6 separate regions of the Homo sapiens genome follow, and all the other regions are linked to region 5. The links are contacts of gene promoters, found by promoter capture Hi-C in human tissues and cell types (Jung and others, 2019). All regions are on one chromosome and are shown on one strand. Each heading gives the region's core, a stretch centred on a gene start or on the middle of the fragment in contact. The rest is flanking DNA. Distances are from core to core; before and after follow the strand shown.

Evidence for each region. Contacts are between HindIII fragments. The study calls those that stand out against the background at their distance.
Region 1: a contact is called between a fragment that was not itself captured here and the fragment with the promoter of NUAK1 in region 5, in 3 of the 25 tissues and cell types used here (hippocampus, mesenchymal stem cells and mesendoderm cells).
Region 2: a contact is called between a fragment that was not itself captured here and the fragment with the promoter of NUAK1 in region 5, in 4 of the 25 tissues and cell types used here (heart left ventricle, hippocampus, mesenchymal stem cells and 1 more).
Region 3: a fragment that was not itself captured here is called in contact with the fragment with the promoter of NUAK1 in region 5 in 2 of the 25 tissues and cell types used here (heart left ventricle and hippocampus).
Region 4: a fragment that was not itself captured here is called in contact with the fragment with the promoter of NUAK1 in region 5 in 5 of the 25 tissues and cell types used here (H1 embryonic stem cells, IMR-90 fibroblasts, adrenal gland and 2 more).
Region 6: a fragment that was not itself captured here is called in contact with the fragment with the promoter of NUAK1 in region 5 in 2 of the 25 tissues and cell types used here (mesendoderm cells and thymus).

What each region holds. Positions count from the first base shown.
Region 1 is chr12:105,997,269-106,002,301 of GRCh38, reverse strand. No RefSeq gene overlaps it. Among named protein-coding and RNA genes, the nearest start is that of NUAK1, 140 kb to the left of the region's middle. The HindIII fragment of the contact is 9,600 bases long and covers 1-5,033 here.
Region 2 is chr12:105,980,637-105,985,496 of GRCh38, reverse strand. No RefSeq gene overlaps it. Among named protein-coding and RNA genes, the nearest start is that of NUAK1, 160 kb to the left of the region's middle. The HindIII fragment of the contact is 6,624 bases long and covers 1-4,860 here.
Region 3 is chr12:106,294,454-106,299,409 of GRCh38, reverse strand. It overlaps a transcript of TCP11L2 not described here. Among named protein-coding and RNA genes, the nearest start is that of TCP11L2, 5.8 kb to the left of the region's middle. The HindIII fragment of the contact is 6,180 bases long and covers 1-4,898 here.
Region 4 is chr12:105,910,601-105,915,701 of GRCh38, reverse strand. No RefSeq gene overlaps it. Among named protein-coding and RNA genes, the nearest start is that of CASC18, 210 kb to the right of the region's middle. The HindIII fragment of the contact is 3,209 bases long and covers 1-2,937 here.
Region 5 is chr12:106,137,594-106,142,024 of GRCh38, reverse strand. It overlaps NUAK1 (NUAK family kinase 1), which reads left to right and starts at 3,071. Exons shown (of 7, transcript NM_014840.3): 1 at 3,071-3,611. The coding sequence starts at 3,372. RefSeq lists enhancers at 1,130-1,749, 4,141-4,431. The HindIII fragment of the contact is 8,166 bases long and covers 1-4,431 here.
Region 6 is chr12:105,891,668-105,896,347 of GRCh38, reverse strand. No RefSeq gene overlaps it. Among named protein-coding and RNA genes, the nearest start is that of CASC18, 190 kb to the right of the region's middle. RefSeq lists an enhancer at 1-522. The HindIII fragment of the contact is 5,401 bases long and covers 1-4,446 here.

The DNA of each region.
Region 1 (5,033 bases), core at 927-3,426, 140 kb after region 5:
CTTATCTGTAAAATGGAGATAATGTCACATGCCTCATATGTTTGCTGTGTAAATTAAATGAGATGCATGCAAGTACTTTTTTACATGCAAGTAATTTTTTAAGAAGAGTCAATCAGATCATGCCACACGTCTCCTAAATCCCTAGGAGCTCCTGTTTCCTGCTGAGAAAAAGTCAAAAGCCTTACAAGGGCCTCTAAGGCCTCGTGGTATGGCCTCTCCTCACCCTGTGTCGCCATCTCCTCCCTTGCTCACTCCAACCACCCTGGACACACCCTCCACCCCTGGGGCTTTGCATGGGCTGTTCCCTCTGCCTGACACACCATTTCCCCAGATACCCACAAGCTTGCTTCCTCACCTTCAAATCTTTCCTCAAATGCCACCATCTCAGTCCAGCCTGCCCTAAATACCCTAATGCAAGTTACAAACTGCAACTTCACAACCCAGCACTTCTCATCCCCTACCTGCTCTATTTCTGTGACCCCCCACTCCTTTTCTTTTCACAGCACAGATGACCTTTTAATTTGCTAAATAACTTCCTTATTCATCTTGCTTGTTTGTTGTCTATTTCTCCCTGCTAAGCTCCATGGGGCAGAGCTCTGTATGTGCTTTGTTTCACTCTCATATCCCAAGTACCTAGGACAGTGCCTGGCACATAGTAGGTGCTGAATCCATGCCTGAAGAAGCAACAGTTTTCTTTTTCTTTGCACCTTTGTCTTCATCTCAGTTCATCTGCTTCTTCTGTTCTCTTGTGATGATAAGGATGCCAAGCAGATACATGTCTTTTAAACACTTTGTGTGCCTTGTAGAGAATTATTATCAGTGCTGTTTTACTTTTAGTCTTCAAAAGATTGCTCTGTCCTTTAAGCTGCAGAATCTTTTCATAAATGTATAGTTTTTCTTTCTGTTTGCTGACCCTTCCGTGAAGAGCTTTAGGTCTATCCTAGCCTCAAGTTTGCCAGTAGAGAGGGCTGGAGAAATTAGCATCTTTAGTGCCACTTAGTGTCCACCAGGATAACAGGAGGCCCCTCCTCTGGGATGTAAGCCCAAAGCTCAGGTGTGCCCTTCAAGTGTAGGTATGCCTGAGCAACGTGGTCTTCTGCTCCTACTGATGTGTTCTCTGAATTAGGGCATTTTTAATGTAATCTTTGAAAACCAAAGGCCCTGAGAAATTCCTCCCACCTCCTTCACCCTTCTTCCTGCTTGCACTCCTTTCAGAACTGTTTTCTTTGCAACACACCCAAATATCTAGAGATAGTGCCATGTTAATGCTGGGAATAGTATTTCTAGAATGATCTGCAGATGGAGGAGCTGATGGGGTGAAGAGAGGATCAGGGATCTAGCTATCTCAAAAGGCAGTTTCTGTGTAGTTTGGAGAGACAGTGTGAATGAGTCAGTGAGTTGGCTTTGAGGGTTCTGGTGCTCTGGTTCAAGGTGGAGCATGAGAGACAAGACTCCAGAATGTGCTTTCCAGTGGACCCCCTCCCACAAAGAAGTCAGCAGAACTTCTTCTAATTTAATCTTTGCTTTTCTTTTGTTTGCTCTGTTGAAGATGTTTTTCTCCTCTGATGCATCTCCATTTAAATGGGATTTAAATCGGAGGTTTGGAGGAGGCATATATGGGAAGTTGCAATTGCTGTTGTAGTAACTCTTACCTTACTCCACTATTCCATGAGTCATCCTTACTTAATTCCCTTTGCATTCCAATAACCCATTTGATTGACATACTGGATATTTTACAATCTCCTGTCTTTTCCTTGTCACAGACCCTGCTATCTCCGTTGAACTATGGCGCAATTCCCCTCAATCACTTTTTCTTGGCTACTGATTCTTCAAGGCTTAACTCAAGTGCCATTTCCCTTCTGGAAGCCTTTCTGATCTTACTAGTCAGTGTGTAATCATTATTTTTCAACAAGTATCTATTGAGTGCCTACTATGTGCCAAGTTCTGTGATAGGTGCTGGAGATGAAATGGAGAGAGAAACACACCTATTTCCCACTCATGGTTGAGTGCTGGGGGTAGAAATGAATAACATCATCATAATTAAGTGGGGGCTGAGGATAGGGTGGGCTTCTTCCCCCGACCCAGTGTTTCTTTCATGTGGGAGGAGCTCTGCCACTGTAAGGCTACTGGACATTCTCTACCTCTTCCCTCATTCCTTCCAGGTGAAAAGAAGTAAATTTTTCACTAGTAAACTTGGGAAAAGGAACTGGGAATCAGTGTCACAAACCCTTCTTCCCCTTTTCTCTGTTATATAATCCACTTTGCAGGAAACACACATTCTGCTTAGCTTCTCCAAAAATTGAATTTTACACAGCTAGTTCCCAGTGTGGAGCCAGTGACAACCCAACACTGTTTGCAACTAACCAAGTGGGTAAGTTGGTCTGATTCTGGGATTTCTTATGAAGAAGTTTACTTGGCCATAGACCTTTCTCTAATGTTAGCTCCTTTTAAAATTTTCTCTCTCAATTGATTCAGAAGCAGGGAAAAAGGGTGGCATGAGTTGGGCTTTCTCAAACCTCAATGGTAGTATGGAAAGTAAAAATTTAAACGGACCTCCACTCCCTTCACTATGTCTTGTGGTGCCTTTCTCAAATCTCTTTTAATGATATTTATTAGACTGCTGTAATAATATTCATATATGTCTACTCCTCTAGAGGGTTAGTCTCTGCCTCTGACTGTGCAATTTGTGCACTGGACAGTGTTCCTGGCCTACAGGGCAAGTGGGAGCTAATATCTGACCAGTGCTGTGTTTCTTAGTAGTTGTGTCTTTGCCTGGCATTGTGTCAGTTTAGTGGGCAAGGCATCTTTTTGTAATTTGCACAAAAGTTTCTTATGTGCCAGCAAAGCCCTATATCCTTGTATTGATGAATAAATAAGTGTTTGTTCCTTAGATGGGCAGCACTATTGCCTTATTTAACTGTAATCATACAGAAGGGAGGAATCACAACCATTTAACTCATTTTTCATCATCTCTTATTAAGTACAATAAGCCAATACACCAGGCACAACCCAGGCAGAATTGTGGAGGGAGTATATCTGCTTTCCCACGCCATTTCCTTAGCATCCTTTATTATTGTTGTTATTGTTACTATCATTATTATTTGCAGTTAAGAGCAATAGAAAAAAAACAATGGACTGAATTCAAGAAACCTAAAATCTGAACCTTAGTTTTACTATATCTAAATGGAAGTCCTGTAGATCTCAATGGATTGTGGTAAAGATAAAGTAACATAATATATGCAAAAAAGTATTGCACACCATACATTTATGCAGATGTTAGGGGCTATTACTATCATTCCTTGATTGCTTAAATTATATGCAGGAGCATTTACCAGCTCAGTTAGTGTGTAAGCCTCACACTGACAATGTTGATTCTAATGGGAACAGTGTAACACACTTATTTCTGGAAAATACCTAGAGTCATCTCTCTGAATTATTCATTTTCCGACTGTGTGTGTGGTTGTTTTCAGATTTTGTGATATAATTTGGAGGTTCTAAACCTACATGCCAAAAGGCATTCTCCTTAGCATCTGGACTTCTTTCTCTGCATATGTTTCCTTCTCCTTCTGTTGCTTAGGGGTTGTTTACAGGGATGATTTCAAACAGATTCCACTTGATGAAGCCATTCTTCTCATTAATGGGATTACACCCCAGTTCACAGTTTTTTCTAACCAAGGGTATGCTAGCAGAGCAGCATTCTTACAGTGTCTGTTAATTTGAAGGTCCTTATGGGAGTGTTATCTGATGATTTTGTAGAAAAGGGCAGAAAGCCAGGGCTATCCTGGATAGATATACTAGAAGGTAGAGGTTGACAGCATCAACATTAATTCTTTGTATTTTCCCAATAATCTTCCTTACCGTAGGTCCCAAGAAATATGTAGTGCAGAACATGGAGAGTAGAAGAGGTATTTATTCCACCTGCAAAGGCAAAGGCAAAGTCAAAACAGGAATCGCAGACAGTCTAATGGCTAACGACATGAATACCAGGAGGGAGTTGGAGATATCCAACCATTGGAATTAGTAGGCTTGGGTTCAAATCCCAGCTCTACCACTTACTTTGCATTAGCCTAGTTTTCTTGTCTGCAAAATGTGGCTAAGAGTACTCACTCCACAGCACTTGCAGAAAGGAATACATTTTGCAAGTAGATTAGATTAAATAAGGAATAAGAATAGGAATAAGAATTAAATAAGTAAGATTAAATAAGAAATACATTCTTAGAAAAATGCCTAGCAAACTCATCACCCATGATATGGTCACTGTGTTTATAATTATTATATCAGTAATAATGTATTAACCAATAGTTTTGGGATACTATAAAAATAGATAATGCAGTCATGGTGGTTAAGAACTTGGGAAGCTAGTTGAACTGAGTTCAAAACCCAGCTCTGCTATTTACAAGCTGTGTGAACTTGGACAAGTAGCTCAACCTCCCTAGGCCTTGGTTTCTTCCTCCATAAAATAGGAATAAAATCAGTATCTACTTCACATGCTTATAAGAGACCTAAATTTTATGAGAAAGCAAAGTATCTTTGGTTGGCCTTTTTTTTTCCCTTCTGTGCTTTGAATATATCATTCCACTCTCTCCTGGTCTGCAAGGTTTCTGCTGAGAGATCCACTGATAGCTGTACTGGGGCTCCCTTAAATGTGATATGTTCTTATCTCTTGCTGCTTTCAGTATTCTTTCTTTATCTTTGATTTTTGATAATTTGGTTATCTTGTTTTTTGGTGAACTCCTCTTTGGGTTGAATTTGATTGGGGATCCCTGAGCTTCCTGTACCTGGATATTGTCATTTCCCTCAGATTTGGGGAACTGTCAGCCATTATTTTCTTTCCTTTGTTAAAATTTTTATTATTTTATTTTATTTTTCCATTAGTTATTGAGGTACAGGTGGTATTTGGTTACATGAGTAAGTTCTTTAGTGGCGATTTGTGAGATTTTGGTGCACCCATCACTTGAGAAGTATACACTGCACCATATTTGTAGTCTTTTATCCCTCGCCCCCTCCCACTCTTCCCCCCAAGTCCCCAAAGT
Region 2 (4,860 bases), core at 1,929-4,428, 160 kb after region 5:
TGAACTACCAAGCCTAAATTATTTACTACAAGATGGTCAACCCCTCCTCCAGTACTCTTGTGGTGGATGCTTTGATGGTCACCTGGGTCTCCCTTTAGTGATGAAAAAGTTATTTCCTCATTTGTAGGGAGTGCTGCTGGAAGATGGTCCTCTTCTGCATCCAATGACTTATCAACATAAAGGTTTAATGGCATCATCACCTGGCTCTGACTCAGAACAACTGTGAAAGGCCACCTAGCTCCATAGTTCCCAGAGAGCTGGAAGAAACCATTTTGGGGGATTGCGTGGCAACTCAACCTTTCCCTCTACCCAGTTTTGCATCCTTATCTCCCTTCCACAAGCATTAATCCCCAAAGAACTCCCTAATGAAAGTCCTGCACTCTGACCTCCATCTCAAAGTCTGCTTCTGGGGAATCTGATGAGCGGCAGCTCTCATCCCCTTCCAGGGTGTTTGATAGGGCAGTGTCGCAGATGGAAGGTCTTGGGTCCTCTGAGTACTGCTCAGAGCACAGCCACCAAGAAGAGCCTCTGAATTCACTTCACAGTGTAAGAGGGGGCAGACTATCAGCTTTTATTGTGTTATGCCACTTAGATTTTGGCATTGTTTGTTCCAACAGCTAGTTCTACTTATTTTGATAAACACAGTCATGTGGGGGATAACAATGTCTGGGTCAACAACAAACCGCATGTATGATGATTGTCCCATAAGATTATAATACCGTATTTTTGCAGTACCTTTTCTATGTTTAAATATGTTTAGATACACAAATACTTCTCATTGTGTACAATTGCCTACAGCATTTGGTACCGTCACATGCTATACAGATTAGCAGCCTGGGAGCAATAGGCTAGACCATACAGCCTAGGTATGTAGTAGGCTCTACCATCTAGGTTTGTGTAAGTGCACTCTATCATATATGCATGGCGATGAGTGTGCCAAACGCCCCATTTCTCAGAATGTATCCCCATCATTAAACAACACGACAGTATACTCAGCCAGGCAAGCTACTGATGCAGCGAGAGGCTTGCAGGAACCGAGACTTAACCGTGAGAACCACAGATTCACACACACCATCTCATACTCACTATAGCATCTGCCCTGTGAGTGGGATGGAAGTTCAGGTCACTCAGTCCATGCCCATTATATTGTTCTCTTTCAGTCTGTTTTGTTTTCTGTCTCTCTCAGCACATGGAGCAGAATTCTCTTGTCAAATATAGGCATGATGTGATTGCACCTCTATCCCTGTTTGAGCCCTGACCATCAAAGTAACTTCGAGCAACTTGCATTCTGCAATGGTTGAAGAATGTAGTGTGTGGACGTCTGAGAGGAGGATAAGTGGGGCATCAAATCAAGCCCAGATGTCAGTCTCCCCAACTCCAGCTGTTGGTTGGGACAGAACTCAGAGGAAGAGCCCTCAGTGGGGGTTCCTAGGAGCTGAACAACCCTACTGCTGGCTACCCGCTGGGCGTGGCTGCACTTGTGTCAGCCCCAGTGTAAGAGCATCTGCAGAGGCAGCTGAAGCCCAGCAAGGTCTTTTGTCCCCCACTCCCTCAAAGTCATCCTAGGACACAGGTGTGCATCCCTCACAGCTGACCGACTGAAGATGAATCAGCTTCCCTGAAAGACGTGCCCCACAGGAGTGTGTCAGCTGAAACTCATCTGAAGGAGCCTGATTCCCTCCCTGACCACAGCTAATGAAAATGTTTGGCTCGCCTGGAGAAGAATCTGTGTTATTCTTTAAAGGAACAATGCTAACCACAGATGTACAGCATCTGGCATGTGGCAGATGTTTCCCTGAGTGAGAGGAACAGCAACTGGACCAGCCAGTTCATGAGATACCTTTGGGTCTAGGCATGTATTTTCCTGATTTCAGCTCTGGATTTTGCTTCTCAAAAGTTCAGGGGAAGTCCAAATGCCTCTTCCTATCACATGATATTTTCATAATATGCTCCCTGGCCTCTTATCTTCTATGATTCTCAATGTATATGCTTGAGAAAAAGACCCATACCCTTGTCCCTAGGTCCTTGCTCTTGCTGTTCTCCATGTTTGTTCCGCCATTTCTCTTTTTTATGAGTCAATTTGTTAGGGCTCTTTCCACCGCAAATGAAAGAAACCCAATTTGGACTGGCTTTAAGCAAAAAGCAAAACCGCAAAAAGCAATCCCCAAGCTACAGTTATTGAGTAAAATGTAACTTAAAAATCCAGGACCATTTGACATCAAAGTCAGGTATTGCTGGATTCAGGGATTCCAGTGATTTTTCTAGGACCTGGTTTTGTCCATTTCTCCATGTCTAGACTATGTTTTCTTCCTTATTGGCTTCAGTTTCAGGCAGGCACTGGATGATCTGTCCCTGGCTGCTTCAGGCTACCAGGTTAGCAACTTTATAGAAAGAGATTGCTTCTTTTGCAATAGTCCTGGGGATGGGACTGATTAGGCCATCTTGGGACACAAACATGTTCATCCATGAGCTAATCACAGTAGTCAAGGGGATGAGATTCCCATGATTTTCCATGCCTGGGTTCCCTGCTCATTCTTAGGGCCATGCAATGGGGTCTTTCCCCAAAGGGTATCAGGATCCTATTATGAGAATGAGGGTGAATGGATGTGGCACAAGAAGAATCAACAGATATAATTCATAGTCTGCTTCTCAAGGTCAAGTTCATCTTAGGCCTTTCTGTAACTCTGACCTTCCCATGGAGGTTTTCCTGGTGACCTCAGTCCATGTCCCCTTCTCTGTTCACTGTAGCACTTCATTGATGAATGTAGGATTGTACATACCTCCTCTGCCTTGCTGGTTGTGTCTGGAGGGACTTCCTGGGCAGTAGAGGACATGGAGTGGGATGTGGTTAGAATATGAAAGGCAAAAGTCACCTTGTATTTCCTTTCTTCATTTGAAACACAGTGAAATAAAATGGAAACAAGAAAGCTTTGAATTGGGAAAAAAAATTCAACAGTTAACAGGCAGTTTAGGGTAGGGAAGAAATGGGTCTTGGTAGCAAGGACTGGTGGGTGATACCGCATGTGTATGACTGCTTCTCCACCTCAGGCTCCCCAGTAGCTGCCTCCGCCTTCAGGTAGAATGCCAAGGTTTGCATACTTTGGGGCCAGCTGGGTGCTTATTTCGTCTGTGCAAATCATTGAGCGTTTGGTGGCCAGTGCTTTCTGCCTTATATTTCTCTCACACAACACTGTGTGGCTGGCACTTTGCTGAGTGCCTAATAATTACTCAACAAGTTTTTGTTGAGGGAAATCGTGTTGTGCCTGCCAGCACTCAAGCCGGCAGTCAAGAGGTCTGGGTTGTAATCAAGCCTCTTGACCTTGACCAGGCTAAGTAGCTGTGCAGAAAAGCACTGAGCAGGATACCAGCTATTTTTATCTAGTGTTTCTAGATCACAATAGTTACATTCCGGTTCACTTGCAGTGACCCTGTGACATAACCCAAATGCTGCAGGGTAAGGCTGTCGAGGTCAAATCTAAAGCAAAAATTGGGTATAATCGAAATGTCCCTGGAACCTCCTATAAATCATCCATAAAGTAGAGTTTAAAAAGTTTTCGGATTACAGCCAAATGCAGTAATACTTGTAAATTATGTGGGATGGATATAGTAACACATTGCATATTATTTAGTGAGAGCATATATTCTACAGTGCAATATTGAAGTATACCTTTATGGGTTCAGTACAAGATTCTCACAAACAGGAAGTTAGAGAAGAGCAACTCCGCATATCTGGCTTTGGTATTACTCTGGGGCACAGATGCCTGGAGTGGATTATCAAGCAACATCTTCAGTACTAATTAAATCATTATTTTAAATTGTTATTTTTCTTTCTCTCTCTTTGCTTTTTACTGAATGCAAATGAATGGATTTATGTAAATTAACTGTGCAATGAATTTTCCCTAGTCTTATTCAATTAAAAATGTTGATTATAGATTCAGAAGGTGCCAGGCACTGGGCTGGGTGTGGGGACTTCAGCAATGAATAGAATGGGCGTGGTTTCTGGCCTAACGGAACTTAATAGTCTTTTCAAATTGTTTTACAAATGAAGAAACTGAAGTTCGATAGAGGTAACTGCCAAATATTACACAGCCATTGAAGAGCAGGGCTGGAATTTGAATCCAGATCTTCTGACTTTAACTCTGAACTTTTCCCAGCTACTCTCTGCTGGCTTCCATGGTAAGTCAAGTCACTTCCAAAGTCAAGGCCAGAGGCCTGGAGTTCATTACTAAAGAAAAAGGCCGCTGGGACTGGCCATTTGCCTTGGCACTGGGATTTGGAATTGAGTTCATATTTGCTGTTGAATCGTTCCCTTCAGTAATGGGATAGCTTGGAATGGAATGGTAACGAGAGCCCTGTTTGCTCCAGAGGGCCCACTCCCTGTCCTGCCCACCAGCCATAGTGGTTGACCACCCTCTTTAAGCCCTCTATTGATTACAAAGAGTCAATTTCTTTCTGATGCAAATGGCTGAGCTCAGGGCAGTTAGAGCTGAGCCATGGCCCCTCAAATTACTGCCTTCCGGACTAAATATGTCAGGCAGCCTTCCCGAGGGTCCTTGTCATGGACAAAGAGACTGGTTCCGGGCTTGCATCTCCCTGCTTTGGTATCTGATGTGTGTACATTCCTTCCTCATGTGTACCCGCAAGTGGCCCAAGAACCAGGGTGCCCCCCTCTCCAAAGAGCCCCAGCTCTCTGTGAGCCTCTCAGGCCCCATCCTTGGAGGAGGAGGCTGCCAGCAAGACCCATCCAGAGCTTGCGGTTTGCCCTGGCCCTCAATGTGCTGACCCAGCCCACCACAGGGTGGTGGCGCCAGGCCTGGGCTCCTCCTCAACTGGGCAGAGCCATCTGGATGAGTTAAAGAA
Region 3 (4,956 bases), core at 559-3,058, 160 kb before region 5:
TCTAGTGGTTAAAGGTGCTTATCTTCCTGCCCCTAAGTGCCAATCAATTATTTCAACCAGTGCTCACTTGAAGAAACTTATGTCTGTTTCAATGCTGGAAGAAAAGAAATAGCCCCAAACAAACAAAAAACGACAAAAACTTGGTGTATCCCAGGTCTTATGGCTCATTAAAAAATTTTCAAGAGTAATTTTCACTGCACTTTGACCTCATGGTCTTCCTTAAGAGCCTAACCCCTCCTGTAAGATGTGACTCCATTGTAATTGAAAAAAACAAAAACAAAAAGCAAAAAAATGGGCTGGGCATGGTGGCTCAGGCCTGTAATCTCAGCACTTTGGGAGGCTGAGGTGGGTGGATCACCTGAAGTCATGAGTTCGAGACCAGCCTGACCAACATAGTGAAACCCTGTCTCTACTAAATACAAAAAATTAGCCAGGCATGGTGTGCATACCTCTAATCCCAAATACTTGGGAGGCTGAGGCAGGAGAATCACTTGAACCCAGGAGGCAGAGGTTGCAGTGAGCCAGGATTGCACCATTGCACTCCGGCCTGGGCAACAAGAGTGAAACCTGGTCTCACAAAAAAAAATGGCCGGGCATGGTGGTTCACACCTATAATCCCAGCAGTTTGGGAGGCCGAGGCAGGTGGATAACTTGAGGTCAGGAGTTTGAGACCAGCCTGACCAACATGGCAAAACCTCATCTCTACTAAAAATACAAAAAATTAGTTGGGCGTGGTGGCACACACCTGTAATCCCAGCTACTTGGGAGGCTGAGGCAGGAGAATTGCTTGAACCTGGGGGGCGGAGGTTGCAGTGAGCTGAGATTTCACCACTGCACTCCAGCCTGGGCAACAGAGCGAGACTTTGTCTCAAAAAAAATTTTAAACTAAAAATTAAATTAAAAAAAATGTTTTTCAAAGGAATCCCACTTCTTTTCTCTCCCCTGTCCATCTTCAGGTGCTACAGAAAGGGCCAAAAATCAGTGAGGGGGAAAATACAATAGAAAGCAAAAAGAAGAAAATGAATTTGGCTAATACACCAACTAGAGAATTAGGCCCTGAATGTTCAAAAATTAACTGCATACCTCCTACTCAATTTTACTGTGAGCTCTAAAAATAAGGTCTATTAAAAAAAATTAACCACACCTTTTAGGCAATTTTTTTTTGTTCTATATCCTGTGATTTGGAAGATAAGGTAGATTTAGATAATTGACCAGTTTTGACTATTAATTGATGCTTGAACAATTTTCCAAAGCACCAAAACCAGTTTTCTTTTGACTCCACTGAACTGAATTAGTAAAAAAATTAACAGTTATTTCTCATTTCAATTGCCTGTACCTTCACATTTAGGCACTGCCCAGTCCCTGACCCTGTCACATACTAAAAAGACAAATATTCTTAGTGCTCCCTACACCCCACCCTGGGCCCCTTCCTCTTACCTGGGCACCACTGTTGTCCCCTGGGAAGCAGAAAGAGTGAGAACCAGCAGTGAAGACAACTTTGGGGCAGGAAGTGGGAGGGGCCAAAGAGAGTTGAAGCTCAAAGGAACACCTATGGGAGGCCAAACAGGTGATGGCTCAGACCTCTGACCAAGCCAGTCACTCTCTTTAGCTCATCTCCAGGCCAGCAGGCAATCAACCATTTTCTAAATGATTGCTTTTCTAAAGTGTTCATGGATGAACACAGGCCCTCAGTTTTAAAATCAAATGAAATTGTCAAATGGGCATGAGGAAGAGCTACTAAAATAAGATGCAATCTCCAGAAAACATAAAGGAAGGATTAAGAAATGTGACTTTTTAGGTACACGATTCAACATGAAAACATGAGTTACAGAACACTGATTATGGGGTGACACGATTTATGCTAGAGAGAGCTTACACTAGAGACAGTACATATGCATTGTGTGTATATGAAATACATAGAAATGGACTAAAAAGAATCTCAACCGTTTAGAAGGCTATTTAGGCAAGTTAGTTCCTGGTTTATTCCGTACACATTCAAGCAGCTTATTTCTTTTACAATGAGAATGTCATTCATATATTACTAGTCTATTTCACACTGCCATACAATGCAACTATTCTTATTATTGTATGTCCTCCTAAATATACCTTAGTGAAGATAGGCTATTGATACTGCACAATAAGCAAATTTCCCATCTCTTTTTTATTCATATTTAAGAAAGCCATGACAACAAATGGAGCTTTTCATGTAAAATATATGAAAGAATAGATTTACAAAAAGTCCCTCACTATGATATGTCAAAATTATTAATGCTGGGTGGGGGAATATTGATCTTTACTTTTTAAGTTCTTCTCCTCAAGCCCTATTCTTCGATAGCCAAAGTGCATGGAGTTTGCTTTCATTTTAAACATGTTTTTTGCCCCAAACTCTGACCTCTAAAACCTTCCCTTTCTTTGATGATAAACTGGACAAATGTCCTTTCTCAAAGTTATATGGGACTTTAATAATTATACTACCTTTTTTTTGTTGTTTCTTTTTTTTGAGACAGAGTCTCACTCTGTCAGCCAGATTGGAGTTCAGTGGCATGATCTCGGCTCACTGCAACCTCTGCCTCCCGAGCTCAGGCGATTCTTTTGCCTTAGCCTCCTGAGTAGCTGGAATCACAGATGTGTGCCATCACGCCTGGCTAATATTTTGTATTTTTAGTAGAGATGGGGTTTCACCATGTTGGCTAGGCTGGTCTCGAACTCCTGACCTCAAGTGATCCACCCCTTGGCCTCCCAAAGTGCTGGGATTACAGGCATCAGCCACCACACCCAGCCGTACATTTTGAAGACAAAAAAATTGAGAGCTCTGAACATTCAAATGCCTGAATAGTAGCTTTTACCTGAGTTCCTGGGCATTCTAGAGGAAGGTCATATACTAGGGCACTAAGGGTTTATGTTGACTAAAGGGATACTCAGCAGTGACTCACTCAGTTGGCAGGTCAAGAATAGAAACCAGAAGAACTCACTTCATGGCTTCTCTCCGCAAATACACACATATACACGTGCAGTGTCACATGCAAAGTATTACCTATTGGCATAATTATCTAATTTCCATAACAACATATCAACAAGCATACCAGCTCTGTACCAACTAAGTGCCCAAAGTATTTATAATCACATTCCATTACTCTAGAAGGGTGCCTGGACCAGATACTGGGGTGGCTGTGCCTTCTAGAAAGCAAGAATGGAATGCAGCTTTATACAAAAATATGAAGCTGTTTACATAGATATATATTCACCCGCACACATGCACACACGAAACATTTCTGGCCAATTCCCTCAGAGGGATCCCAAGCCATGCCATTGTTTATGTTACATGTACATCTGCATGTATATTATCAGTAAATTCCCACAAAGCTCAGTATAGGCTGGGCGCAGTGGCTCATTCCTGTAATCCCAGCATTTTGGGAGGCCGAGGTGGGCGGATCAACTGAGGTCAGGAGTTCAAGACCAGCCTGGTCAGCATGGTGAAACCCCGTCTCTATTAAAAATACAAAAAATTAGCTGGGCGTGGTGGCGCACTCCTGTAGTCCCAGCTATTTGGGAGGCTGAGGCAGGAGAATCACTTGAACCCAGGAGGCAGAGGCTGCAGTGAGCCAAGATCACGCCACTACACTTTTGCCTGGGTGGCAGAGTGAAACTCAGTCTAAAAAAAAAAAAATGCTCGGTGTAACATAATTATACAAATAAATTTAATTTTAATGCTGAAGCTGAATTCTTTATTTAAAGGAAGACCTCTGTGATGATATGTGGACGTTTAAAAAAATGACTTTTTAAAAGTTACAAGCATTACGTAGATCAAAATTTTCAAAGAATTAATCAACTGAGGTACAAAATAATTGTATATAATGAGGAAATGTGGTATGGTGGAAAGAGGGTGGGCTTTGGGTTCAGACAGACCAGAGGGTTGACAGCCAAGTTCCACCACTCATTATACATATGTCCTTATCCTCACAGGTATAAAATGGGGATAATAATGTTGTGGGGGCCATTTGTCATTTTGGTGATCCAGCTTTCCGAATGGTATTTGAATTGTTATCATTTATTATAGAAGCCAGAGAGGGGATGATATGCTAATCCCATTAATACTTTACTACTGGAGCTGGAAAGGCATTCTGTCTTCCCAGACCCTGGTGGCTGTAGCATGGGCATGGGACCTACGCATGTTCTGTCAGATGCTGACCACCACAGGTAGATAGGGGTGATTCACAGAGCTACAGTGGTGGTGCCCAATGCTGATGACACCAGCTATGGCATCCTTAGCATGTTCTTAGCTATGCCTGGCTTCCTTTAGTTCTTTCCCAAGCTTGGTTCTTCAGTCTAAAATATGTTAGAGTCACTCGATAGCTAATTCCATGAGCTACCAAGACCCTCTGGTCTCAGTTCCATGAGCTACGAAGACCCTTCTGGTCTAGTCAGACTAAGGTGTATTATTTGCCACTAAGAACTTTGACTAGAACAAATACTCCATAACCTGTGGGAGAATTAAAAGAAATAATGTATATGAAGAGTTGAGCAGAGTGCCAGCGACATTGTATGGATCAGTAAACTGTAACTACTATTATTATACTCTTGTTATTTTAATGATTTAATATTTACAGTTTCGACAGGTCCTGGGCAACTTAAAGGTCTGTGACATGCGATAATTTAAAATTCTGCCAAGGAGCAAATTTGAATCTAATAAGTTGGTGGTACAGGAGCCATTTATTTACCTCACAAATGAGCCTAACACATCACCCAGTATTTATATATCAATGTGAGGATTACTATTCTCCACTCATTAGGCCAGTAAGTCAGATCCATTCAGGAAAATAATATAACTTTATATTGTGTTAAGAACAATGATCCAAAAACTTGGATAATTATCCAAACGTTATCCAAAGACTTGGAAATAGGCAAAAGGGATTACTGGATGTCCTTTTAGTAGGGTGCTGTGTAGTGCAGTGTAGT
Region 4 (5,101 bases), core at 84-2,583, 220 kb after region 5:
TAATCATCAGGGAAATGTAAATTAGAACTTACACTTGTTAGGATGACTATTATCAAAAAGGCAAGAATCAACAAGTGTTGATGAGGAATACGGAGAAAAGCGAACTCTTGTACGCTCTTGGTGGGAATGTAAATTAGTGTAGCCATTACGACAAACACTATGGAAGTTCCTCAAAAACACTGTGGAAGTTCCTCAAAAAATTAAAAATAGAACCACCATTTAATCCATCAATTCCACTTCTGGGTATATATTCAAAGAAATGAAATCAATATGTTGAAGAGATATCCGCACTCCCACGTCCATTGCAGCATTCCTTATAATAGCCAAGGTATTGAGTCAACCTAAGTGTCTATCAACAGATGAATGGATAAAGCAAATGTGGTATCTATGCACAATGGAATATTATTGAGCCTAAAAAACAAGGAAATTGTCTCATGGATGAACCTAGAGCATGTTAAATAAAATAAGCCAGGCACAGAAATAGAAATACTGTATTGTCTTACTTATATGTGGAATCAAAAAAAGGCAAACTCAGAGAGTAGAATGGTGGTTACCAAGGTCTTGAAGGTGAAGGGATTAGGGAGATGTTGATCAAAGGAAACAAAGTTTCAGTTAGACAGGAGGAATAAATTCAGGAGACCTATTCTACAACACAGTGATTATAGTTAATGACAATGTATTGTATATTTGAAAATATGAAAAGAGTAGGTTTAAAATAGTCTCACCACAAAAAATAATAAGTACGTGAGATAATGGATATGTTAATTAGCTTGATTTAGTCATTCTACAGTATATACATATATGAAAACATTATGCTGTATGCTATGAATATACGCAATTTTATTTTTCAATTAAAAAAATTCAATCTAAAATAAAAAAAAATTATTTTTCAATTTAAGAAAAACTTCCAAACTATCTTTCAATATACTATTGTGAATTCCCACCAACAGAATGTGAATTCCTGTTGCTCTCTATTGTCACCAGCATTTAGTATTGTCAATTTTTTGTTTTTTGGATTTAAGTCATTCTAATGGGTGTGTAGTGGTATCTCATTGTTCTTTTGTGCACACATATTTTTATTTTTGTAAAAGACGTGTTGTATGTCTCACTTTGTTTCTTTTCCTCATTAGACACTGTGTTTTAGGATAAATTACATTGCTGTATGTATACTGAGTCCATTGCTTCTTACTGCTGCATAATATTTCAACTCCTAAGTGTAGGTAGTGGTGGGAGAATTAAATCTTCAACATCAGCATCATTCCTCTAAATTATGTGAAAAAATAATAATCTAAGGAAAACCAAGGTAATATTTATGCAAATGTGGCTTCAAAACAAGTTTCCCAAGCTCCTATTCTAATTAGATGATGATAGTGGTGATATATCTGGGTGTGTGTGAATGAATGTCTTGATCAGATGTGAGATATATTTGCCTTATTTACTACCACTCCCTTCTCCCATGACATGGGCCAGTCAATGATAGCATTTACAAAAGTACATTGGGATGATTCTGAATTCAGAGTTCCAAGTGGCCACTACCAATTAGTGAAGCTGACTTGGAGAAATAAACCTATCTTTGGACTAGATAAAGTTATTTTCAGCTCCAAAGATTCTATATTCTATAGGTAGCCCAATCTGGTGGAAAGTTGGGTTCATGTAGGGGATTGGTAGTAGACAAGATAGGAAAATGTAAGAGGGAGGAATATTATATATTAAACAGCTGCCAGTTATAGAGTGTCTACACATTATGTGGTTCCAGGCACCCTACATACATTCTCACAGGAGGCACACAAATTCCTATTGGATTGTGGCTTAGTCTCATTTTCAGATGAGATAGCAAAGGCCCATGGAGACCAAGTCACTTTCCCAAGAAGACTCAGCTGGAAATGGCATCCTGAGATTAGAACTGAGGTCTGTCTGACTCCAAAGTTGATAATATTCTCACTACATCATGGGTCCTCTCACATGTGTCTTCAGTAACAACCAAAATGCCAAGAGAGGTATAAAGAGGAATGTTAAGTGACAAATGAGTTAGGTTGGGCGCCTAATTAAGAGTCTATTGCAGAAGTCTGAGCATGAGATGAAAAGTCTGCATTCGGGTAACAGTGGGACTGGAGAGTGAGCAACTGGCATTGCCAAGTGTGAGTCAGGGTGTCCTACAATCAAGGTTTGGAAGCGTATTGAAAGAGATGTCTTCAAGGAAACACAGTAGAGATTGTTTCTGAAGAGTCTGGACAACACAAGCCCGAGGCAGCAAACATAGGCTATTGAAAAATAGATGTCTTTCCTTTGGAACTAATGCTAATGTTGGATTTATTTCCCTTATAATTTGCCTATTGACTGAAGAGAAATTACCTACTACGACGGCTGGAGCCTTTCTGTTGATGCAACGGTAGAAGCATGTCGGTAGTTGGATGGAAGGAACAAAGCTTATTGTGTGCTGTTGAATTGTATTGTGCCCAGCTTTGAATCACTGAAGCACATAACTCTGACAATAATGTATTGCACTTGAAGCATTTGTTTATTGCTCTTTATCTTCTGGAATGCTAAACAAATCATAGGGACTTATTTGCAGTGTTGAAAGTAACTTGAAATAAGTTTTTTACCTCGTGGTCTTGGCCCAGGCTGTTTAAATTGGACCAATTTCATTATTGACTTTCTTCCCTTCTTTATACATTGTTCCATGAGTTTCCCCAAAGTCATTTTTCTTGATGTCCTGCCTTTGTAAGCTGTGTTGGAGTGGAGGAAGGGTGAATGAGCTGCTGACATATTAAGTGCTGACTGCTCCTGGGCTGTTTGAGTTTGTGGTTTGGCTGGTCCATTAGCAAATTTGTTCTTTCATTACTAGATCAATATTTTCCTCATTTTCCCCCCAGGTTGTAGGCATCAGAATTAGTCTTTGGGCCACTGGATATGTCCAATGATTATATGAAGTTGTACTAAGGAATCATTCATACATTCATATGTGCATTCACTCCAGAAAGCCTTTGGACAACAAACTATGTAGCATTGCTATGCTATCAAATACCATTCCCATGAGGATTTTCCAAATGAGTTTGGGACACCTGTCTTACAGGGTCACAACACACCTGAGCCTATTGTAGGATTTGAGTAATCTCACAGTAAAGAAATACCTTTATATTTCTTTAAAGCATTCCCCAAACTTTGACCATGTGTATTAGTCAGCTTTTTGCTACAGTAACAAATAACCCTCCAAAATCTTAGTTTAGAACACTAAATATATATATTTTTTCTTATTCGTAGGTCTGTTTGTCAGGGGTGGATTGTGCAAGGTTCTCCTTGGCTCAGCTGTAGTCTGCTGTGTTCTGGGGGGTCTTCTCATTCTGAGTCCAGGCTGAAGGAAAAGTCCGTAACTGGAATATGCTGTGCTCATGTCAGATGCTAGGAATATGAGAGAGCTTGAGCTAAACCTCACACTCCCATTTAAAGCTTTTGCTCAGATGTTGCAAATGACACATTTGTTCAGATCCATTGGCCAAAGCATGTCACCTGGCCAAGCCCAGAGTTAACGAGGTGAGGATAAATACTCCTCCCAAATGATACATGGCCGAGTCACATGAATATGAGTAAGAAGGTTTAATACTCTTACTGGAGGGAATGCATAGTTGGGAACAGAACTTTTTTTCCAAGAGTTTTAGGTCAGATTTCCTAGAAGCAGAGACTAAAATAGGGATTCCTGATCAGGTGACTTACGAGGGACAGCTCCCAAGAGAAACCTATAAAGGAGAAGGGAAAACGATAGGACAGGATAAAAGATAAAAGCAAATATGTGGTTTCATGTGGTTTCACCTGAAATCTAGCCTCAGCCTGGTCACATGGGGAGCTGGAGTATGAATGGCATCAAAATGTTGTCCTTTCTTGAGGCAAGGGATTTGGGCTTCCACATGCCCACATTGATCAGTTTTTGGCTTTAAGCCACCTCTCAGAGGGTGAGAGGTGAGGTGGCTTCTTTTATTTATGGAAAATTCTCTGGAGAAGGACACAGGTGTGAGTTCTTAGCAGCCAACACTTACTGCAGCTGGAAGATGGGTGTGCTAGGCTGATAAAAGGGGTCTGGGCAGGGTACTGACGGTGTATACCATAATACATCCCTGCACTGTTCAAATCTTCATGATTTCTGCATGACTTTATCCAAGCACAGCTTCTCCAGTATTCTGTTTGGTCACAGTTTTGGGAATATTAACAAGAGGGATAATAGAAAAGAAAGTGATAATTAATACTCATAAACTCCTTCCTCTACCACCCAATATAAACTTCTCTCCTCTTCCATTGTCACTTTGTTAGTTTAGATGGGTTGCTTATTGGGATGACCAAGCCCTCATCTCTGAGCCGTCTCAGTGTATGATTAACTTGCTTTTATCAGGGCAAGATTTCTTTACTGTTAACAGTTAAAACTGAACATGGGAGTAGCAAAGGACTCACCCAGTGGATCATCTGAGCACAAAACATATTCCTCCCTACTTCCATTCTGTGAGCAACCTTGTCTTCTCATTATGATCAGAATCACTTACTTCTGCTAGTATGGCAACTACTTTCTAGGCCTGCTGGTCTAGTGACATGAAGATCCTAAAGTTCCCAGGCAGTAGCCATAGATTTAAGTTTAATGAAAGTTTTACTGTGTCCCCCAGGGGAACTAGAACCTCTAGGTCTGTAGAGCCTAGAGTAGAAGGAATGGGAAGCACAAATTCCCAGGCTGGTTACTGCAAGTGATTGTAAAGGGAGCCACTCTTATTCTGCCTCATATTTCTAGGACCTACGTATTTAACTACCAAGGACACTGTACAATATAATGGCCGTTGGTCTAAGTTGCATACCAGCTGAAGGGTAGAGCTTTGTATTTTCTTTTCTTCTTTTGAGACGGAGTTTTGCTCTTGTTGTCCAGGCTGGAGTGCAATGGTGCTATCTTGGCTCACCGCAACCTCCGCCTCCCGGGTTCAAGCAATTCTCCTGCCTCAGCCTCCCGAGTAGCTGGGACTACAGGCATGCACCACCATGCCCGACTAATTTTGTATTTTTAGGAGAGACGGGGTTTCTCCGTGTTGGTCAGGCTGGTCTTGAACTCCTGACCTCTGGTGATCTGCCC
Region 5 (4,431 bases), core at 1,822-4,321:
ACCCAAATCTTATAAAACGGCCCCACCCCTATCTCCCTTTGCTGACTCTCTTTTTGGACTCAGCCCGCCTGCACCCAGGTGATTAAAAGCTTTATTGCTCACACAAAGCCTGTTTGGTGGTCTCTTCACACAGACGCACATGAAAGTTACCATCGCCACTTTGCAGATTAGAGAACTGAGGCATAGAGGGGGAAAACAATTATCCAAGATGATCATAAGAGGTGGAACAGGGATTTGAACCTAGTCACTCTGCCTCTAGATCTGAAGCTCTTAATCAAGGAGCCTGGGCTCTTGTTGGAGAAAATGCTTTATCGATGTGAAAACATTCACACACAATGCCTGATAGCATTGTGCTGAAGTGTGGTTCCAATTATAAACGTGGTAGGAATTCAGTCTGGAGAGGAACTCCCAGTGCCTGGGCATGACTGTGTGCTAGGCATTGTACTGGGTGTTTTTCATCCTTCCCATTTAAGGAGACGGAGCATGGCATATATGAAAGGAGAAGGGGGAGCTTTGGAACTGGACAGGTAGGGTTTAAATCCTGGTCCTGCCATTTACAAACTGTGTAACCTCTGGGAAATTACTTAACCTTTCTGATACGGTTTCTTCAATTGAAAATAGGGATTGTAAACAGCTACTTTACAGAGGAGGGTTTACTGTCATAAAACAGTACCAGCCTATGGTAGATGATGCTGTTGATTCAATAGATACTGATGAAGTCCCACATATCTGGGAGTAACACTATCAGCCAGAATAAGCCAGGTTATGCTGCTTTAACAAATCCCACTGACTTAACATAAATAAAGTTTAATATTTGCTGACACTACTTTTCCAATGCAGATTGGCTGGGATTTTCTGCCATCTTTACACAGAGACTCAGGCTGGCTTGGGGAGGCTCCAACTTTGTACCACCATGATTGTCAAGATAGGAAAAAGAAGACATGGGGATTTGCTCACTGGCTCCTAAAGGTTCCAAGTGAAAGCAACACAATCACTTCTGCTCTCATTCCATTGGCCTAAGCAAGTCCGATGGTCTCATCTAACTTCAAGAGGATGGGGTAGTGGATTTCTACCACATCGCAGGGGAGGGGAAGAAGTAGAAAATATTTTAAAATACTACTGTAGACACAATGTGTTTATCTCTACAATAGATCTGCTAAATCCATATCTTAAGAGAAAACCGAAGCTCTGAGAGGTTATGTCATTTGACCAAGGCCACACAGCCAATCCTCTGGGAAGCCAGGACTCAACCTGCATGCCACTCATCCTGACTGTGGGATCTATAGGCACAACGTCCACAAACTGTATAGAAGCAGAACAGTTTCAGGATGGGGGTGGGTGGCAGGGAGGCCCTGCAAATGCGGTGGACAGAATAGGAATTGAATAGGCATGATGCGCCTTTGTGTCTGTGTTCTGTCATTGCTCCTGGGGAAGGGAAGAAGGGGCAGGGAAGTTTGTGTGAAATATCAGTAGAAGGAAAGTTTGGACAGGTAAGAATATCACGCGTCAGAGTACAGCAGAGACACGTGTGGAGGATGAGGGCAGTGTTTCAGGCCATTACTCTGGCAGCAGTGAGGAGGCTCCCGGGGAGGGTTGGGGAGAGCGGGCTGTTGCTGGAGTCCGGGGTAAGGTGACCAGGGGTAGACAGGAATGAAGGCGGCGGGAATGTAGAGGAAGGGCTGCACCTGAGAGCTGCAGAGGAGGCCCCAGTGAGGTCCACTGGTGGAAAAGAACCGCCATGCGATCTGCAGAACACCAGACCTTCTTCAGCCTTCACTCTTCCCACCCTAGTCTGGTACATTGCACCACTTGTTAAAAAAAAAAATTTCCCTAAGACCTCTTTTTCTCTAGCCTTCTTCCTTATTTTTCATGGTCTCTTCTTAGAACGGCGGCAGCCACGCCGCGGTGGGAGGCCCTTCCTGCCTGACCCTTACCGTGCGGGGTACCGTTCCTGTCACCATCGCCAGGATCTGGCCCTTTCAGTGAAAGGAAATCTCCCAAGGCCTAAGGAGGCAAGAGGCCTGCAAATCGCCTCCTGCTCAGCAAACGGGTTGCTCAGCAGGCCCGGGGTCCTGGTCCACCCCAGGTCCCTGGTTTGCCCACCTCCGATGGCGGCCTTCGCTGGCAGGGTGGGCGCCTCTGGGGAGCCAGCTCCGTCCCGGCGCCTTTAGAGCCCCATCTCTTCCACGTCCCTGGCCTTCCTCCCCTTCCAGGCGGCTGTCCCCGCCGGGGTCCAGATGGTGTCGGAGGGCCGGCGGTTCGACGGCGGGCCCGGGGTTCAGCCTCCCGGCCTCCCTCCGTCCCTGACTCTCCTTTCTTCGGAGAGGGCGCGGGGGCCGGGGCCAAAGCGCCGCTCTTGGGGTTCTCCTGGACTCGGAGTTGCCCCAGGCGGGCGCAGCTCTGCCCCGCGGGGTGCCAGCCTCGGGCGGGCAAGGTCCGTGAGTCACCGCCTGTAACCGAACACCAGGCCTCCCTGCCCCCTCCCCCAGCTCCGGCCGCCAGGCTGCGGCGACACCTACAAGAAAATGAAGGGGCGCCCAGGCCCGCGGCGGCCCCGGCCGTATCGCGAGCAGGTCCCGGCGGCCCCCGGCTCGCGGCGCTCTTTCTTCCCCGGCCCCGGGGCTCGGCCAGCCGCAACCGCCGCCCCGGCGCCAGCAGGAATCCAGGCCGAGCGACCGGCCCCGGAGCCCGAGGCGGCGGAGGGCCCGCGGTAGCTGCGACTGGCGAGCCCGAGAGCGCCCGGGGAGGGGGCGCCCGGCTTGGAATTTCCCGGTCCCTTCCGGCCCAGCGAGGACAAAGCACTCCTGGCCGCCGCCGCCGCCGCCGCCGTGGCCTACGCCGCGCCGCACAAAGGGCGAGTCGCGACACGCTCCCATCCCCCTCCCAGCTCACGGCGGCCCCGGCCCCGGGTGGCTGCAGGGAGGTGGGGGAAGCCCTGGCTGCACCGCCCCTCGCTCCCCCTCCCCTGGGGCCGCGCGAGCGCCGCCCCCGCCCCGTCTGCGCGTCCTCCCGGGGAGGGGTTGGGGGGCGCGGCGCCCCACATAACACTCCCCCTCCTGCGCTGCGAGCCACCCTCTCCCCTCCCTCCTGCAAACACCACCGCCTCCCCTGCCACCGCCGCCACCTCGCCCGACGCTCCACAGCTCGCCGCGGCCGGGGGGCGGTGCGCGGACCGTGCGCGCCGCGGGCGCCAGATGTGCAGTCCCCGCCGCCGCCAGTGACCGAGCCGCAGTCCGAGCGGTATCGGGCCGCCTCCCTGATGCTGCGGGGGCGACCTTGAGCGTACAGCGGCTTCCCTCGGTGGGGACCCCGACATCCCAGCGCTGTGCCCGGTCTTGCCCTCTGTAGCCCGGCTCGCCCCGCGCTTGGACATGGAAGGGGCCGCCGCGCCTGTGGCGGGGGACCGCCCCGACTTGGGGCTGGGGGCGCCGGGCTCTCCCCGAGAGGCGGTGGCGGGGGCGACTGCAGCCCTGGAGCCCAGGAAGCCGCACGGGGTGAAGCGGCATCACCACAAGCACAACTTGAAGCACCGCTACGAGCTGCAGGAGACCCTGGGCAAAGGCACCTACGGCAAAGTCAAGCGGGCCACCGAGAGGTTTTCTGGCCGAGTGGTGAGTGGGGCAATCCTGGAGGGTGCGGGGGGCGCTGGGTGGACGCGGCCGGGGACTGAGGGCGTGCGAGGCGGGGGTCTGTGCGCCCTGGGGCTCTCTTGACAGAGAGGGGGCTCATTGGGAAGCCCCGAGACAGACTCCTCACTCTTTCTCCAGCACCCCGTGACTCAGGCGTGTCTCTGTCCTGAAACACTTGTTACATCCTGTCTGCACATATTTTATTTTATTTTTTGGTTTGTTTTTAAAAATTTAATCCTAGCAGCAAAGGAATGTTTTAGATTTGCAAACACTTTGCAGCGTTGGGACGGCCGGGGTCTCTCTCCCTCGCAGGCACTCATTTAGACCATGCCCCGAAACGTCTTATTTCCACAACTCTCCAAAGAACCACATTCCCAGCTAGGAGCTAGCCCCTCAAGTCCGGTGTTTTGTAGGTGTCCCTACCCCCTTCCACCCATCTGCCCGCAGCTCCTTGCTCTGCATCCTCCCACTCAGACTCTGCATCGCCCTGATACTGCTGTGACTGCAAGGGAGGGCGACTCTTGCCTGTTTTTGAGACAAGGTTAGGGAGCAAAAATAAAGACTACTGCAAGCCTGAGGATTCTAACAGTTTGCATCATGGCTTTGGGAGGACCGAAATGTCCAGGGCATGGGTAGCTACAGAGATAGCTGTGCTTAGTTGCAGCAGGCTCAGTTGTGTTTCAGCTCCTGGTTGCAGGGCTACCAAACCGCTGAAGGGGTCTGGCCCCGCTGCTCTTGTGACAGCTGACACCCTGCCAGGGTCCTGGCACCATTTGCACAGCTCCAAGGAGTGCTTTGAGTG
Region 6 (4,680 bases), core at 497-2,996, 240 kb after region 5:
TTTCTTATGAATCTAGGACAACTGCCTGCCTGGGCCCCAGGCATGGGCACACCATGCTGGCTGAAAGGCCCTGGGCCCACAAAAGTAGACGGTCAGTTCGATGTTAGGAAACAATTTCCACTGGCCCTGTGAGAATGATGAGAATAACAATAACAACTAAAATTTATTGGAACACTTCCTACATATCAGGTAGCATGCTACGGGCTCAATTTGTATGAACTCTTTCCTTCATCATGAGTCTGCAAGGCAGTTCTTATTACCCTCATCCTGTTATAGATTAGAAGTCAAACCTGGGAGAGGCAGCTTACCTTTCCCCAGGTTATATTGCTTGCGAATGACGGAGTCAGACTCAAATTTAGATCTGATTCCAAAGTTCTTTGTCTTAATCCTTAAGAGTTCAACACCTTCCAGTTGTCACTAAGCATTTATGGAGACCTTCTTAATATTCTCATGGTGCTTACAGGGGCTGTGATCCAGTAGGGGGAAGGGGACAAACAAACTCCAATTACTTGAGAGCCAACATGTTTGTATAATAAATGAGGGCTCAGGCATGTATCAGCAGACCCGTATAACGGTGTTGGATGCCTAGAAGCTCTTTTAGTTTTTGCCTGGTACGGTTTGGCTTTGTGTTCCCACCCAAATCTCATCTTGTAGCTCCCATAATTCCCACATGTTGTGGGAGGGGCCTGGTGGGAGATGATTGCATCATGGGGGTGGGTCATTCCCGTGCTGTTCTTGTGGTAATGAATGGGTCTCACGAGATCTGATGGTTTTTAAAATGGAATTTTCTCTGCACAAGCTCTCTCTTTGCCCGCTGGCATCCACGTAAGATGTGACTTGCTCCTCCTTGCCTTCCCCCATGATTGTGAGGCCTCCCCAGCCATGTGGAACTGGAAGTCCAATAAACCTCTTTCTTTTGTAAATTGCCCAGTCTTGGGTATGTCTTTATCAGCAGTGTGAAAACGGACTAATACAGTATCTTATCAGCAACGTGCAGCAGCAAAATCTAAACAAGCCAAATGCCTCAGCAGTCATGTGATGGGGGGTGGGCAATGGGGGCGAGAGAGGGCAGGGAGTAGATGAGGACTGGGCTCAGCCACTTGGGCTGGAAGGGAATTTGGGAACTAGCTCCTTTTTCTCTTCTTGTACTGGCTTCTGTGGGTAGGGTTCGGGGGTGGGTAGAGAACAAAGAGCATCTGGCCTGGGGTAGAAGGAACGCTGGGGTTGTTGAACGGGTAGTGTAGCCTCCCAGGGTCCCTGACTTGGCTCCTTGCCTTGCAGCCAGTTCCCTACCTCGGCTTTAGTTGACATGGCTGTAGACTAAACTGAGAGAGTGCCTGGACTGGTCTAGAAGTCACTGAGATGTCATGGGAAGAGCACTGGGTTTAAAATCTGGTGCCTTGGGGTGGCATGCTGACTTGTCACTTGCCAGCTGAGTGTCCTTGGGCAAGTCACTTAACTTTTCTGGTCCTCAGTGTTCCCATCTGTAATCATAATAAGGTGGCTAACATTTATGCAGTACTTACTAAGGCTCAGGCAATTGGTCCAAGAGCTTCCCATACTATATTTAACTCAATCCTCGTAACAACCTTATAAAGTATGTACTATTGGCTGGGTGCAGTGGCTCACGCCTGTAACCCCAGCACTTTGGGAGGCCAAGGTGGGCGGATCACTTGAGGTCAGGAGTTGGAGACCAGCCTGGCTGCCGTAGTGAAACCCATCTCTACTAAAAATACAAAATTAGCCACGCATGGTGGCATGCACCTGTAGTCTCAGCTACTCGGGAGGCTCAGGTGGGAGAATCGCTTTAACCCTGGAGACAGAGGTTGCAGTGAGCCAAGATGGCACCACTGCACTCCAGCCTGGGTGACAGAGTGAGACTCCATCTCAAAAAAACAAATACAGAAAAAAAAGTAGGTACTATTAATATCTCCATTTTATAGGTGAAGATATTGAGGCCCAGGGAGGTTAGATAGATGGGGACCACTTGTTCTGAGTTGCCTGAGATTGTCCCCACTTACACCTGTCATCCCTGCCTCTCATCTGGCTTAACATTTTTCTATCACCTTTCATGATCAAAAATGCCCTGGTTTGGTTATTACATTATGTGTAGTAATTATAGTGTATGCTATATTTAGGTTAAATATTTTGTCAAAATTCCAGAAATGTTAAGTGGTAGAATAGATCTTTAAGCCTGAGAAGTCAGATTCCAGGGACCATGTTCTTAATCATCAAACTGTGTAATATCCAGACACACCTGCTTCAAAAGGATTGTCTCCTTTCCTGCCTTTCTTGCTTCCTTGCTTCCATCCTGCCTGCCTTGCTACCTCCCTTTTTCCTTCCCTCTCTCCCTCCACTCTTTTTCTTATTTCCTTCCTCCTTCCCTCCTTCTCTCCCTCCCTGTCTTTTTGCCCCCCCCCCTTTTTCCTCCCTCCCTTTCTTCCACATTTCTTAGGTGCTGACTACAGTGCCAGGCATTAGGGATATAGGATGACCTGTGCCCTTAGCAAGTTCATAGACTGGTGGGAAGGCAGACACACAAATCAGTATTTGCAATATAATATGAAGGTGCAATAGAACAGACAAAACAGGCAGACACTACAGGAGCATAAGACAGGGAACCCTAATTGTGGGTGAAGTGGTTTTAGGAAAGTTGAAGAACAGAGTGACTTTTAAGCTGCATCTTAAGGATGTGTGTTGTCTAGAAGCTTGCCAAGAATGTTAAGGGAGAGGTGAGGGCAGAGACTAGGGTCGAAAATAAAAATAAAATATGAACATTTTGGGTAACTTTTAGGAATTAAATTCATAATAATAGTAGCCAGATTCATGAGAAATCACTCATACTTTCTAGGTAAGAATAGCTTACATAATTAGTAGCGCTATAGGCCAAGCCAGGGACATTCCAAGTGGATGGAACTGTTTGCTCCTTTATAGAGGTAGTGTATCAAGGAAGGATGCCTTCAGCTACAAGCAACAGAACACATAACTAAAAATGGTTTCAAAGTAAGGCATTGTTTTTCTTATATAGTACAAAGTGTGAGGGTAGGCAAATGGTTGTACTATTCAATTTTCCACCAAGGACCAAGATTCTCTCCATCTTTCTGCTCTGTCAACCTTAAATAGGTTGGCTCTTTGTTCTTGTGTTTGTTATCTAATGATCCCAATGTGGCCTTTGGAGAAGACAAGCCTGCACTTCAGCTTGGTTCAGCTACTTATCTCTGGAACTTTGGACAAGTCACTTACCCTCTCAGTTTCCTCATCATTAAAATAAATGAGAAACAGCCTGACAGGGCTGCTGGGGAGAAGACTGAGTTCCTGTATATAGAGCACAAACTAGGCAAGCCAAAAAAAAAAAAAAAGATTTGTTTTCCTCTTTCATCTATATTTTTGTTGTTGTTGTTTTGCATATGTGCTTTGCTTTAAGGGGAGGGCAGGGACTAGGATAAAAAAAGAAAAAAAATGCACATTTTGGGTTACTTTTAGGAATTAAATTTATAATCATAGTAGCCAGATTCATAAGAAACCACCCCTACTTTCTAGGTAAGTATAGCTTATATAATTAGTAGCACTATAGGCCAAGCTGTCCACAAGTGCTGACCCATCGCAAAGCCTGCCATGTGGTCAAAGCTCAGAAACTAGGGCAGGCAGAAAACACCACAGATGGGCAAGGGGAGTCTGGGCTTCTCTGGGCTTTTACCTTGTATAATTGACAAAGGCAGCTTCAGCACTCTGGAGATTGATATCCAAGATTTTTTTCCAAAGCCAGAATTTGAGATAAGCCACAATTAATATTTGAGAGATTAACTGTTCCATTAGGGAAGGGTGGCCATTAATTAAGCCTCAAAGGCAGTTGGAATGAATTATGTTCCAGCAAGAAGGATGGATGCGTCCTGCTCTTAAAGGAGATGGGAATCGGATTCCAATGAGCTCTCTGTAGCTTTATTGGATGGGTCCTATGTGCCTCGATTTAGAAGAGATTTATTTTTTAAAAATAGCTTTTTGGCCAGGCACGGCGGCTCATGCCTGAAATCCCAGCACTTTGGGAGACAGTGGCAGGTAGATCACTTGAGGTCAGGAGTTTGAAACCAGCCTGGCCAACATGGTGAAAGCCCTGTTTCTACTAAAAATACAAAAATTAGCCAGGTGTAGTGGCACACACCTGAAATCCCAGCTACTTGAGAGGCTGAGGCAGGAGAATTGCTTGAACCTGGGAGGCAGAGGTTGCAGTGAGACAAGATCACCCCACTGCACTCCAGCCTGGGCTACAGAGCGAGACTCTTTTTTTTTTTTTCTTTTTTTTAAGTGTTTTATTTGCAAAATCTATAAAAGCAGAATGATTCATTATTGGTTCAGCTAGGATGATGATTCCTGAGCCAATGAATGAATTGGCTTTGCATTTCGAAAAATCAGATACAAAAGAACCACTATTTTGCATGTGTTTCATTTTGGATAGTTTTACCTGGTTGGTTGCTGGGCATTTGATGTCCTTTCCACATAGGTGATTTGCACATAATATCTTCTTTTTAATGGGAAACTAGAAAGAATTTATTTAAAACCAAGGAAAACCTGGGGCCCTAGTGAAGAAGACACTGGAGCCAGACCAGTCTCTACAGCTGGCAATGCTAAGACCATAATAAAAATGTGGTCTTCATTAAAAATATTTCAATCAGTCCTAAAGAT